Linked DNA regions of Homo sapiens: region 1 is linked to region 2. Evidence: promoter capture Hi-C in human tissues and cell types (Jung and others, 2019). All regions are on one chromosome and are shown on one strand. Each heading gives the region's core, a stretch centred on a gene start or on the middle of the fragment in contact. The rest is flanking DNA. Distances are from core to core; before and after follow the strand shown.

What was found. The method cuts DNA at HindIII sites, captures the fragments that hold promoters and counts their contacts. A contact is called where the count stands out against the background at its distance.
Region 1: a fragment that was not itself captured here is called in contact with the fragment with the promoter of DAD1 in region 2 in 1 of the 25 tissues and cell types used here (bladder).

What each region holds. Positions count from the first base shown.
Region 1 is chr14:22,330,736-22,333,435 of GRCh38, forward strand. It overlaps TRA and the pseudogene LOC100420343. Among named protein-coding and RNA genes, the nearest start is that of TRD-AS1, 150 kb to the right of the region's middle. The HindIII fragment of the contact is 6,283 bases long and covers 1-2,700 here.
Region 2 is chr14:22,587,974-22,590,673 of GRCh38, forward strand. It overlaps DAD1 (defender against cell death 1), which reads right to left and starts at 1,251. Exons shown (of 3, transcript NM_001344.4): 1 at 974-1,251. The coding sequence starts at 1,184. RefSeq lists enhancers at 248-889, 890-1,531. The HindIII fragment of the contact is 2,964 bases long and covers 481-2,700 here.

The sequences.
Region 1 (2,700 bases), core at 162-2,661, 260 kb before region 2:
TGTAGCAAAGTAATATTTTTATATGAACATGTCAGAGGCATTTGAACCAGAGCAACTCCATCTTGAATAGGGGCTGGGTAAAATGAGGCTGAGGCCTACTGGGCTGCATTCCCAGGAGGCTAATGCATTCTTGGTCACAGGATGAGAAAGGAGGTTGACACAAGATACAGGTAATAAAGACCTTGCTGATAAAACAGGTTGCAGTAAAGAAGCCTGCTAAAATCCACCAAAACCAAGATGGCGACAAGAGTGACCTCTGGTCATCCTTATTGCTACACTCCCACCAGTGCCACGACAGTTTACAAATACCATGGCAATGTCAGGAAGTTACCCTATCTAAAAAGGGGAGGCATGAATAATCTACCCCTTGTTTAGCATATAATCAAGAAATAACCATAAAAATGGGCAATCAGCAGCCCTCAAGGATGCTCTGTCTATGGAGTAGCCATACTTTTATTCCTCTAGTTTCTTAATAAACTTTCTTTCACTTTACTATATGGACTCACCCTGAATTCTTTCTTGCGTGAGATCCAAGAACCCTCTCTTAGGGTCTGGATTGGGACCCCTTTCCAGCAACAAAGAGATGTGTATTTTATTTCTGAAAATACTTTTTTGCTTTGTTATCATTCTCATGTTAGGCCAGCAGCTCAGGAAGTCCTGGTCTCCTTCCTATATTGGAAAAGGGAGTTCACAATGAACACAAAAGAAGAAAGGATAAATTTGAAAATTCCTCTGGAGACAATAGAATGGAAAAAAGGGGTTTTGAGTTTGGGTTACGACTTTTGAGTTTAAAAATAAATCTATGCCTCAAAAAGTTCTCTTAGAATATATCTGAATACAAAAACCAATTATGCAACCCTAGATTTAATGCAAATTTCTTAGTTTCTGGGAATTTCTGGGGTGATGGAGACAAAAGCAAGAAAGTAAGACATCAGTGAAGATCTCTGCCCATCTCCACATACCCTCCCAGCAGTGGGGTGGGAGGAGGCAATTTTTAGCCCCCAAATAGGATGTTAGGAATCTGAAACTAGAGGAGATTGACAACTAATTCCTCTCAGAAAGACTGAGTGACAGTATCCTGCAAATTTCCACCAGGGCAGAGACAGCTGTGCAGTAGTGCCAATAGGCCCAGAAAGCCCAAGACAGCCCCATTCTGCCAGACTGGAATTAGAGTAGTTGAATTTTTGCATGCACACAAAAAGCATAGAAATTAACAGAGAGAGACTTAGTGGACCTGGATGGGTGTCAATATTATAATAAAAAGGATGCAGAGCATATAGATTAACAGCCAGAGACCTACAGGGACTCAGACATCAGGACATTAGAAACAATAATGTCCCAGACTGGACCCTAAGCACTGCACCCCAACAGATGCCAGTATGGGCCAGGTGTCCCCAACCAATGCCAGACCACCAGTTAAGGCCTCTACATTCCACCCCAAGGATGGCGAGGAGGAAATCTGAACTGATGGAAGACATCCTGAATTGACTTAGAAAGTCATGATTTTACTGAGAAAACCCTGTATTTACTTAAAGCAAGCTTTCTGACACCACGCAAAGTGGTTACCAGAGTTAGAAATTAGGCTGTTATAGAAAATAAAGCTATCCTGGATTGAACATCTGAGTAAATTACAAAACATTTACCCGCTACATCTCTATTCACCAGATAGCGAACTCAAGCATTCCTCTGCCCCTACATAAATGACAAATGACATTCACGTGTATTACATATCCCCTCAGGCCTAACTAGGGCTGTGTGCTGTTTCCAAGACCAAAATGTCACAACTGTAAACCACTCACCTGGATACTTGCTATAAGAAATAGCTTGGATTAGTATGGAACTTGGTGTAACCCTCAAATATGGGAGTTTGTCACTAGAGGTACCAGAGGACCACATTCTCTGTTAGGGGACCTCGATGACAGTATATTACAATGAAGGCAGTGACTGGCAAACAGCAGCTTCAAATAGGCATGCAAACAAACATTGAGAAACAGTAAGCACATAAGATAACTCATTTAGACACTTTTATATGCAGCATGTATAGGATTTAAAATAACATTCCCAAGTTGAACTGAAACCATTACTATGTAAATGCCACAGCCAAGTCAAATGAAATAGTAAATACCAGCCTTGCAAATTGGTCTCCCTCAAGGGCACTCAAAAGAGTTAGACTGCGTGCTGCTGCCTTAGGAAATGTCCTCCTCTCTATCAATCATTTCTGCTTTGACATCAAACCCATTGACCAGCATATGTTTTGGAATTTCTGAACAACTGACTTTCAAGGATTCACATTCATTCTGCACTTTCTTAGAAACCTCACAGGAGCCACTGTTGCCAATAAAATAAAATAAAAAAACACAAACATTATAAATCTAACCCCAAAATGGGATTGCTTCAAAAGAGAATGGACACCCCACTCCCTACATTGCTTGTACACATCTGTGTTGATTCTCTTGGTGAACTGGCCCATGCAAGCAGGAGCTCATCAATCAGCAGTTGTCACCAAGTGCAAGTCAGAATTGCTCAACAGAAAAATTGAGTCTTTTTTTATTCCCTATTGTCACCTACTAAAATGTAAGTTGCTTGTTGATCTCATCACACTGAGCTATGTTTCAGGGAAGTGTTGAAAAGGCCCAGCCTGCGCATATTCTTGAAATTTTGAAATAATGGCTCAGTGAACAGATGTATACTTTCTCCCAA
Region 2 (2,700 bases), core at 1-2,500:
GATCTGCCTACCTCGGCCTCCCAAAGTACTGGGATTACAGGCATGAGCCACTGTGCCAGGCCTCCAGACAATTCCAATGCTGTATTTTGTCTGTACCCCAACTAGACCATAAACTCTTTACGGATAAAGAACATGTGCCAAAGCTTTTACCATAATGCCTCATATTGGACTGAAAATACAACTGATGACCTGACTGATGATCACACTGAAAAGAAACCATGAATGCTGGCATGTTTTCAAAGTCAAAGTAGCAGGTGATACCAGTGATAGAGGCCACGCCTGTTTTCAGTATTCACTGAATCCCCGTTGGGCAAGAAAAGTCAGATTTTAACAAAAATTGATGGAGACTGTTCTCGCTAAATATAGCAGTCTACAAGGTTACCAAATCCTGGAATCAAAAGGAAAAATAAGGCTAAAATAGAGTTATGTGAACAAAAATTGGGTTCAGGACAGTGAAATAACAGCTTCCTCAACAAGAAAAAAAGTAGTAGCAGCTAAAAGGCAAAATCAAGTAAAGGATGATTCAACAAGAAAAGCACCAGTATTTATATTCTTTGCACTTTCATTGAAACGTTTCACCGGAGATTGGTAATGATTAGGCCAAGATGACAGAGATGATTCAAGGTTGGGTTTTTCATTTGAAAAGTCTACTAATTTTAGAGTTGTGTTAAACCTAAGTTAAAGTTGGAATAGGGTTTTCCCCGGACCAATATTAAGTGAAGTGGATCACCAAGTGGAGTAGCGGCACGAAGGTGGTTTCTTTAGACTTTTAAGTCCAACTCCTACGGAGCCGTTTGGTATTAGGCATATAATCTAAGCTTTCTGAGCCTCAATTTCCCCATTCACAACAAAAGGGCAATGCAGGCTCTTCTCATAACTTCAAGGGGCGGTGGTCTGATATAGAGTACTATGAAAACAAAAGCAGCACACCAAAGTAACACATTATTATTATGATCACTTATAGAACCATTACCCGCTAGGATGAAACTCCCCACACAAGAGATGAAGCCCGAGAGAAAAGAGTTGAAGGGGAAGGTCCCCACGAGGAGACAGTAACCGAACTGCAGCGCCCCGGTCAGCAGTATATACAGCAGGTACGCGTCCAGCAACTTCAGACGCTGCGGAGTGGAGCTCAAGTACTCTTCTAAGAACCGCGAAATGACAGACACTACCGACGCCGACATAACTGCACGCAAGGTACTCCGGTCCGCGCCCCAAACTCTTGGAGGACCCGTCGACCACACCGGATGTGCTGTTTGCGCATGCGCACCCTCGTGACCTAACTCCGCCCTCCCCGGTGTGCCAATTTGCGCAGGCGCTGAGGCCGGCCAGGGCGCGTAACAACTAATGCGCAGACGCGGACTGCATCAACAGACTCAACTACAACTCAGAAAAGTTAATGCGTCTGCGCAATGGCCCTATCAATGAGCTGGGGACGTGTACTCTTTCTGTTCTGTTTCCGCCCGTCAGCTCGGTGACGCCCACAGTTGCTCTGGCAACAAGACACACTGGGAGGAAGAGGGGAATAAGCTTTACTGGGGACCGCGTAGCTAACCAGAGGTATCCGGCTCTCTCTGGTCCTTCTGAGTCCTGGAAGATTTAACGGTTTGCATCTACTTTGAGGCAATGCCTGGCGTTCCTGGGGTTTGATACCAGCCTGACCCTAATTCTGTTAAGGGCGCTGTCTGCAGATGTCTGTCACAGATCATTGGAACAAGTCAAGTTCATCCGCAGTGAGACCCGGCGCGGCCAATCACTGCACAGGCCCCAGTTTAGACTTAATTACTTGGGGGAGTGAGTGGGTGTGGTGAGGGGCGGGAGGCAGGGAGGAAGCCTGACCTCAGCAGGGTTCTGAACTGGAACTCGGGATCTGGCCCTGCAATGCCAACATTTATTGGGCGCCTCCTTGGGGCCTGACGTTGTACTAACTTGTAGGGACTCTCACGTGAATCAGATATATTTGCAGCCTTAAAAGAGCTGGTGAAGGGAGGGACAGCTGTCGAATGTCGTGCAAAAAGCATATGGTCAAGTTTAGCAGCTCTCTTTCCGCAAGCTGGTATCTTGAACCTGGTGTAATATCCCGGGATGTCAGCGTCGAAAGGCCCGAAAGAGCATGCCTGGTTCAACCCTACTCTCTCCAACTCATTTTGCAGAAGAAACTGAAATGGTTTCAGGTTTTGTATTTTAACAAGTGGGATTATTTTGAGGGTTTTAACTGTTTTTTTTTTTTTTTTTGAGACGGAGCCTTGCTCTGTCGGCCAGGCTGGAGTGCAGTGTCGCGATCTCGGCCCACTGCAACCTCCGCCTCCCTAGTAGCTGGGACTACAGGCACGCGCCACCACGCCCGGCTAATTTTTGTATTTTCAGTAGAGACGGAGTTTCACCATTGTTAGCCAGGCTGGTCCCGAACTCCTGACCTTGTGATCCGCCAGCCTCGGCCTCCCAAAGTGCTGGGATTACAGGCATGAGCCACTGCACCCGGCCTGTTTTAACTTTTTTTAAGAAATTAAGTTCTGGCTTTCGTTGCCCTTTTAATTTCACGTGAATCCGACCTTCTAGACCCAGTTCATCTCACCTTTTAGCTGTAAGTTTTTCCACACATGACCAGGTACTTTATTTTCAGCTTCTTAATATTTTGAACTGTACGTGAGCAAAATTCCTAAAACAGCAGGTGAACAACAGCGTTCCTGCCTTTTCACT